Regions from separate parts of the Homo sapiens genome. Here region 1 is linked to region 2. The links are contacts of gene promoters, found by promoter capture Hi-C in blood cells and fetal thymus (Javierre and others, 2016). All regions are on one chromosome and are shown on one strand. Each heading gives the region's core, a stretch centred on a gene start or on the middle of the fragment in contact. The rest is flanking DNA. Distances are from core to core; before and after follow the strand shown.

Evidence for each region. The method cuts DNA at HindIII sites, captures the fragments that hold promoters and counts their contacts. A CHiCAGO score of 5 or more calls a contact.
Region 1: a contact is called between a fragment that was not itself captured here and the fragment with the promoter of CFAP54 in region 2, in 3 of 17 cell types (neutrophils, total CD8 T cells and endothelial precursors). The highest score is 6.4, in neutrophils.

The regions. Positions count from the first base shown.
Region 1 is chr12:96,377,284-96,381,561 of GRCh38, forward strand. The region is part of intron 1 of CDK17 (cyclin dependent kinase 17); the gene reads right to left. Among named protein-coding and RNA genes, the nearest start is that of CDK17, 21 kb to the right of the region's middle. The HindIII fragment of the contact is 6,318 bases long and covers 1-4,278 here.
Region 2 is chr12:96,486,788-96,491,720 of GRCh38, forward strand. It overlaps CFAP54 (cilia and flagella associated protein 54), which reads left to right and starts at 2,790. Exons shown (of 68, transcript NM_001306084.2): 1 at 2,790-3,139. The coding sequence starts at 2,823. RefSeq lists a silencer at 2,644-2,938 and an enhancer at 2,829-3,038. The HindIII fragment of the contact is 3,410 bases long and covers 2,235-4,933 here.

The DNA.
Region 1 (4,278 bases), core at 981-3,480, 110 kb before region 2:
GAAAAAATTACTTCACCATATAAAAGTCGAAAGTTATGCATGAAAAAACATAATCTAAAATATACATATTTGCAACCCACATCACAAATAAAGGGCTAATCTCCCAACAGAAAATTCCTGAAAACAAAGACCAATGACCTAAGAGAAAAATAAAGGACATGAGAATTCAAAGAAGGGAAAAAACGTAAAATGCCCCTTAAACATATGAAAAAATGTCCAATGTCATTGATAATGAGAAAAATACAATAACCTGAGTTAAACCAGTTCTCATCTATCAAATGCAAAACTCAAAAAGTCTGACAACACATTCAGTTGCTGAGGTTATGGGAAACAGGCCTGTTGCACATTTAGGTGGTAGTACAAAATGGCAATCTGGCAGCATCAGAATTACAGAAGCAGTTTTTTTTTTTCGTTTTTTTTTTTTTTTTGAGATGGAGTCTCGCTCTGTCGCCCAGGCTGGAGTGCAGTGGTGCGATCTCGGCTCACTGCAAGCTCCCCCTCCCGGGTTCACGCCATTCTCCTGCCTCAGCCTCCCAAGTAGCTGAGACTACAGGCGCCCGCCACTACGCCCAGCTAATTTTTTGTATTTTTAGTAGAGACAGGGTTTCACCGTGTTAGCCAGGATGGTCTTGATCTCCTGACCTCGTGATCCGCCCACCTTGGCCTCCCAAAGTGCTGGGATTACAGGCGTGAGCCACTGCGCCCGGCCCAGAAGCAGTTTTTTAAAAGTGAACTTTTAGTATCGTTTTAGATTTACAGAAAAATAGTAAAGAGTTCCCTTAAACCACACACTCAGTTTCCGCTAGTAAGATCTTACATTAGTATGGTACTTATTGGCAGGAAGTCACCTCATGTAGCTCACACTTGAAAGGTGGGGAGTTGTATTATACTTCCTTGAGGGCTGTGTATCTAATTATGCACAGATTTGTCTATTCTTCCCCCATTTATTTATTTAGTCAGTCATTTACTTCTATCAGCATGAACTCATGGATATTATTTTATACTTTGGGTTATAATTCAATATTACTTTTTTGTTGCTCAAATTATTCCAGTATTGGCTACTGGGAACTCTTTCAGTTGGCTGTGTCCCTTTGACATAACTCATTCGTGTTTTTGTTTGAATAGTTCCTTCCTTTCCAGCACTACAAGATACTCCAGGTTGATCTTACAGTTTTATTAGCTGCCCCAGTCCTAGAATCAGCCATTTCTCCACAAAGGCCTGGTTCCTTTTACTGGAGAATGGTGTTAGAAACCAAGATCTGGGCACCAGGTGTGCTCACTGCTACAGGGATATTGTTGCTTCTAGGTTCTCTCAGCTGACAGTGGAAGAAAATACTTGACCTAAAGATCTACAATTGCTTGTTCAAATAGAAAATGTTACATGTATATTGTTATTCATTTGGCATTGTAACAGCAAAAAATAGAAAACAACCCAAATAGCCACAAAGGATTGAGTGACTAAACTACGGTACATCTACATAAGAAAATACTATGAAGCTATTAAAAATAAAGATCTTTATCTAGATATGGAAAGATCTCCAGAATAAAATACACATTTGTTTGTAACTACAAAAGGAAAACACTGGAAGGATAAACAGGATACCAAAAAGTGTGGAAGGAAAATAAAGTAGCAAGCAAAGGAAGAAATAAGACTTCGTGTACATCTTTCTACATACTTGAGTTTTATCTATCCCAAAAAAATAAGTTTAATTTTAAAAAGAACTTAAAATGGTTATAATAGTGGAAGAATCTGAAGGTTCAAATACTAAGAAAGAAAAAGATATTAATTTCTGAAGCATAAATACATACTATGAGACAGAGTAGCTCAAACCTAGGGACAATTATGTACCAAAAAAATCTAAATTTAGTAAAATGGAGGTATTTCAAGTCAAACTCAGTTGAATTTAAAGTGCTGAAATGCAGTACAGCTGCTAAAATTAACATATTATCAGAACCTGTATGTAAGTTTACTGAATTACTGTTAAATGGAAAGTGATTTATGATCACCTATATTAGCAGGGAGATAAAGGCTAAAGAAATGCAGAACAATTTATAGAAACAATTAATGTTTATATTCTTGATTATAAGATATGCTGATATTTATAGTTAAACAAAAGCATCTATCATTTCTATATTTTTTAAATCTAATTTTTTTTTTTGAGACAGGGTCTCAAGTCTGTCCCCCAGGCTGGAGTGCAGTGCCATCATAGCTCACTGCAACCTCAAATTCCTGGGATTAAGCAATCCTTCCACAGGTTGAGCTTCTTGAGTAACTAGGACTGCAGGCACACATTACTATGCCTGGCTAATTTCTTAAACATTTTTTGTAGAGACGGGGATCTCACTATGTTGCCCAGGCTGGTCTCAAACTCCTGGGCTCAAGCAATCCTTTCACCTTGGCTTCCCAAATTTGCAGGAATTACAGCCATCAGCCACCGTGTCCAGAAGTAAATCTACTATTTATATCTCTTATTTCCCCAAACAAAATGGTGAAACCAATTTCTAACATATCGAAACATTTCCTCATCGGAAGATAAAAATGGCAGAGTTTCTAAATTAAACACACATTTCCAAGTGCTCCTAAGAGACAGTAAAACAATTCTCCCTGGGCGCTGTAGCTAACATCTTTAATCCCAGCACTTTGAAAGGCCAAGGCAGGAGGATCGCTTGAGCCAAGGAGTTTGAAACCAGCCTGGGCAACACAGTGAGACCCCATCTCTACAAAAAATACAAAAATTAGCTGTGCATGGTGGCACACACCTGTAGTCCCAGCTACTATGGAGGCTGAGGTGGGAGGATCACCTGAACCCAGGAGGTTGAGCCTGCAGTGAGCCATGATAGCACCAATGCACCCTAGCCTGAGAGACAGAGGCAGACTCTGTCCCCCGACCAAAAAAAAAACAAAAAAAAAACCCAAAAAAGAAAAACCAGTAATTCTCATGTCTCTGAGGTGAACCAAAAAATTACCCAAAAAAGGCACAAGTAGCTCTTTTTAGCTGGTTTTTTTTTTTTTTTTTGAGACAAAGTCTTCCCTGTTGCCCAGGCTAGAGTGCAATGGTGCGATCTCAGCTCACTGCAACCTCCGCCTCCTGGGTTCATATAATTCTCTGCCTCAGCCTCCCGAGTAGCTGGGATTACAGGCGCCCAAGCATCCACCACCACGCCCGGCTAATTTTTGTATTTTTAGTAGAGAGACGGGGTTTCGCCATCTTGGCCAGACTGGTCTTGAACTCCTGACCTCGTGATCCACCCGCCTCAGCCTCCTAAAGTGCTGGGATTACAGGCGTGAGACACTGTGCCCGGCCATTTTTTAGCATTTTCAATATTGTAAAGCAACCCTTTGAGAGTACTTCTGAAGCACCAACATCACAAAAGGTTGTCCATTTAACTTGCAGAAGTTCATCTGTAATTGTACACAACTTTCCCAATGGCTTCACTATAGAAAACAATGATATTCTGCCTAAAAAGTGTTCAACAGCCTCCTTACTGGAATATCTCCCTCTTTGACCTCATTTCCTGCCACTACCTCTATGAGCAACCTTTATCTCTATTTCTATCACATGGAAATACTCATTAGGCTGGTAGAGAATAACATTTTTAAAGGAATATAAATTTTTTTCATATCCCTTTTTTACATGTTCTTTTATCCTACCTAGGAAGTGGTTCTCTTCTCTCATCTCTCTATTTGTAAAGCTAATTACCTTTAGTGTCAGTTCATCTGAGACATCTACTTAATACCCTCAGCTAAATGTCACTCTTTCCTCGTCATGTTAATCCTAAATTCATCTTTAACCATAAGTTCATCTTTGGTAATAACACAAATAAACTAATACACTCTATCATAAACCACATAACCTTTTATCAAGATGCTCTCTAAGCCTTCTGAGGACATTCCAAGACAGTATACAGTCCTATGGTCTCCTTGGAAATCCATATAGATAACATTTCAAGGGCGATACCTTGTTGGTTTTGACTGGATATTCATATAAACTTTTCAAAGAGATGAGTGATACAACTAACCCTTATCTGTAAGTTTTGAGTTTACATTGTTTCATCCCATGTACAAAACCATTTTTTCCTACAAAAAAAAAAAAAAAAGATGCTCTTTACAGTGTACAACCTAGACAACGGGTAACAGGAAGTCTATTTCAATTACGGAGGCAACTCTTATAGATATACTGACATACCTACAGTTCAAATTTTATAGCAGGGAGACCAGTTTTGAAGAAAAAAATAGAGACTTCTAGTGAGCTGAAAGGATCATCCGCAATTTTCCTC
Region 2 (4,933 bases), core at 1,540-4,039:
TCCATTCTTTCATTACAGTGAGAAGAATAAAGCAAAGTGACAAGGAAAGAGAAAGATATTATAATGGCTGCATCTAATTACAAGGAAGATAACACCTCTAAAATGTTAAAAATGCCTCAAATTCAATTTATTTATTTTATTTTTATTATTTATTTATTTATTTATTTATTTATTTATTTATTTATTTTGAGATGGGGTCTAGCTCTGTCGCTAAGGCTGGAGTGAAGTGGCATGATCTCGGCTCACTGCAACCTCCACCTCCCGGGTTCAGGCGATTCTCCTGCTTCAGTCTCCTGAGTAGCTGGGATTACAGGTGTCCGACACCACGCCCAGCTAATATTTGTGTTTTCAGTAGAGACGGGATTTCAACATGTTGGCTAGGCTGGTCTCGAACTCCTGACGTCAAGTGATTCGCCCACCTGAGCCTCCTGAAGTGCTGGGATTACAGGCGTGAGCCACGACACCCAGCCAATTTAATTTAAACTAAATAAAATGTAAACTTCCATCTTATCATAATGATGATTCAGAATATAACACCCATTTAAATATTCAGACAAGCTTCCAAAAACTACTGCAAGTTAAGCATTGTTAGCTTTAGTGTGTGCAAGGGGGAAAGTGACTAAGATGCAATGTTTCATAATTCAGGTATTTGAATTTGCTTAGTCACATTTTCTTTTACCAGTGACTTTGAAATACAAGTGTCTGCCCTATGATAAAGTTTGTTTGTGACAGTAGCCAGATTAGAAGGAAAAACACCACTTTGTCTTTTATTTTTTTCTTTCCTTTTCTGTGACCACTTTAATTAATTTTATCCTGCTGTTTCACTTTCATCAATATAATAGATAGCACTCAGTGGCAAATTACACCAGTTTTTGATCTGCAATGGACAAGTCTGCCATGTTAGAGCAAGAAAAAGATGAGAAAAAAGAGAATTTACCAAGCCGACTTTTAAAAATGTCTATTAATATTTTTGTAAATGCCCAGTGATTATTTCTCTAGGACTACATTCTTTAAAGCCTTACAATTTTTGTTGTTCACTTAGAGAACAAGATAAAATCTTTGTTGATCAAAGGATGATATCTACATCCTGATTAGAGAATTGGACTCCTACAGTGAGGTGTCATTGCGTCTCACTGCTTGCCAGGAAGTTTCTCTGGCTATAATTAACTGTGCCGATGAGCAAAATTATTTTCCTTCAAAGAATATTAGGGTACAGTAGACATGACATATTAGGCCAGCCTCACAAATTAGCACAGGCCCACAGAGCCTGCATAAAATTAGGTCAGACTTGAAAGATATCAGGCTGTGGTCCAATAAGCTTCTTAGTCTGAAATGGAAAATTGGGTTCACAGGGTGTTAGGGTCACTGTCTTTATTTAAGTGTGATAGAACTGGTAACAATTTTCAGGGTTAAAGACTGATTTTTCTAAGCCACCAAATATTTCTGGTTCTTCTCTTAGATAATTTATTGTGTTGCATAATTTATAGAAAAGAAGGTTCTCCATTTTCTCAATACTCATACTTTAATAAATTTAACTCTGACTTTTGCCTATAATACACAGGCTAAGAATAAACTCCCCAAGTATTTCCCTGGAGGTCTGTAGTTTCCCCATCAGAAGTAAAGTCTCCTAAAAGCCCTGTTTAAAATGCAAAGTATTTTGAGAGTTAACACTTCAGGCCACTAGTATGTATTAATGTCCTATGGTTAAGGTTGAGCAAAATGCACATTAATTTAGAATACAGAGATAATTAAAGTAAGGCTGGAATGTGCATAAATAGATGTAATCATAATTATTAGAGGCATAGACATCATGTCCACAGTTACAGACCTCAAGGTACAAATAGAGGAAAGAGAATGGATCAGCTGCATATTCAGTACTCCCTGGCTATCTGTGGGGGACTAGTTCCATGACACCCGCAGATACCAAAATCTGTGGATGCTCAAGCCTCTGATATGAAATGCTGTAGTATTTGCATATAATTTGTGCACATCCTTCAGGATGTTTTAAATCATCTCTAGATAACTAGTAATACCTAATACAGTATAAATGCCATGTAAATAGTTGTATTTTGTGTTATTTTTATTGTTGTATTGTTATTTCTAATTTTGTTCTGAATATTTACAATCTGGAGTTGCTTGAATCCACAGATGAAGAACCCGAGATTTGGAGGGCCAACTGTATTTGATTCTTAAACTGCTTGTCAGATATTTCTCTAATTTCAATTTGATTAATAAGCTTTGTTTTGGGGAGTGATCAATACAGCCTATTCATTTTGAGCACAGGCTTTGGAGTCACAAGTTCCCTTTGGAGGACCTGGTCGCTGACACTACGGTTGTACGCTGACTTTTGTCAAATGACTTAACCTCCTTGAGCTTTGGTTTCCTAAACTGTGAGATGGATATACTAATAGTATCCTAAGTTGTAAAGTAGTTATGATGATTAAATGAGATAAATGAAAGTACATGTTTCAAATGCTTAATGCCTGACACACGTTAATGGTCATGGTCGTCATCATTATCGTTATTAAGTGGCCAACATGGATAAAGAGTATAGTCTGGATTTGTGACCTTAAATTTTTGGCTCTAATATTCGCCAGCGCTCTGCTCAGAACATTCTCTGTTCGCATTTCATACAGCGGTGCCAGCGCACAACCAGGCAACGCCCTCAGGAGCATCATTGTTTTCTGGACCTGGTTCTTTCTCGCTCTGCCCTCCAGGGGCCGCTGTGTTTCTCGGAATGCGCGCGGGATGCCCGGTTGCCACGAGACCGTCGCCAGGCAACCGCGTGTACACATACTCCAGGCGGGCCGGGGCGCGTCAATATGGCGGCGCAGGGCTCCCCCTCGAGCTCTCCGTCAGACGACTCTACCACCTCGGGGTCTCTGCCAGAACTGCCGCCGACCTCCACCGCGACTTCGAGGTCGCCCCCAGAGTCGAAGGGGAGCTCCCGGAGCTCGCTGCTTCAGTGGACCTGCCCCGAGGACTCATTGCCCCTAGCCGTGTTTTATGGGCCGCTGGACGCGAAAAACCCGCTCCTGGCCTCTTGTGAGAAGGAGATCCAGGAGTTGTTAGGCTTTATGAGGAAAAAGAAGGCTTTAGCCACCACGGAGGAAGAGAAGCACGAATTCCGCCGGCGTTGGTAAGCGCTGGCGGGGCACTGGGGAGGGCGCCGGCCAGAGGAGGGACCCCTGGAAAGGGCTGGAGGATGCAGGTGGTGGCCCCAGAGATGGTTCAGCGTTGCGGACGCAGGGGCTGGCTGAAGGGCCCAGGAGAGACAAAGTTTAAGAAGTGGAGACTCGTCGCTCTTAACAATCCTTAATTCCTGGGAGCTGTTATATCTTGGCTTCCTGCTCAGGTCAAAATAAAAATCTACACAGAAATGTTTCATAACTCACCATTTGTTATTTGACCAGAAAAGAAAGATGGTAACATAAGCAGGAAAGAACCTTAAAAAGAGTTCGCAGTTTGCAGTAATAACATGGTGATAGAACTCCCAAAAAGGCAAACAGTTGCGCAGAATGAATAGCAAAATTAAGAAAAAGTCACTGTAATCCTAATAGCAATATAAGAAGGAATTAAAGTGCACATGTTCACAGGATGACATACTTCATTGTATCAAGAGCTAGCTTCATGAACCTGAGCTACCTCGAAGTTATTCCTTTTTCTCCATATACAAATTTATATACTCATAACATGGAAAGTTGTGAAACCCTTGAGCGAGCCAAAAATTTATACATGAATACAAAATACGAAAATTAGCTGGGCATGGTGGCACATGCCTGTACTCCCAGCTACTCAGGAGGCTGAGGCAGGAGAATTGCTTGAACCCGGGAGGCAGAGGTTGCAGTGAGCTGGGATCGCGCCACTACACTCCAGCCTGGGCGACAGAGCAAGACTCCTTCTCAAAAAATAATAATAATAAATAAATAAAATAAAATATTTTTTATTTATGCATATAACAACTATTTATTGAGCACATACTGTATATCAAGTGCTGTTCAAGGAACTAGGAAAACATCAAGTTAACAAAACATATAAGAATCCATGTCCTTATAGAGCATATGTTTTTGTGGGTATAAACAACCACTAAACAAATATGTAAGTAAATAATCTTACAAGGAGATGACTGCTAGGGAGAAAAATAGAACAGGGAATGGTGTTGGAGGATATGAGATGAATGTTGCAATTTTATCTTTTTTTTTTGAGACAGGGTCTCACTCTTGCACAGGCTGTTGTGCAGTGGCTCAATCCTGGCTCACTGAAACCTTGAACTTGGGGGCTCAAGGGATCCTCCCACCTTGACCTCCCAAAGTATTGGATTACAGGCATGAGCTACTGCGCCTGGCCTGAGTGTTGCAATTTTAAATGGGGTGGTGAGAAGCCTGGTTAGGGAAGGTCAGGAAAAGTTGCTTTTGAGAAAGATGAGAAAGATATGGGAGCAATTGATGAGGATTTTTGTGCAAAAAGTAGGTCACACAGGGAGAATGGCAGATGGGAAAGACCTGGGGTGGAATTGTATTGTGGGAAGAGCAAGAGGGAGGGAGATCAAGAGTTTACTTTTATAAAAATTGAGATGTGATTCAGCATCCAGGTGGAGCTACTATGTAGGTAGTTGGACATTTGAATCTGGAAGTCAGATGAGATATACATTTGGGATTCATATGATATTTAAATGATGACACTTGATGAATAGCTAAGGGAGTGTGTGTGTAAATGGAGAAGGGAAGAGTCCAAGGATTGAGCCCTGGGATGCTCCAGCATGGACAGGGAGAGGCAATAAGAAGAAACCAACAGAGACTAAGGAGGAGGGGCCAGTGGAAAACCATTAAGTGCCTGGTGTACTAGAAGCAGGTAGAGAAAGTATTTCAGGAAGAAAGGAATGATCAACTGTGGCAAATTCTGCTGACTGGCCAAGTAAGATGAGAACCAAGAA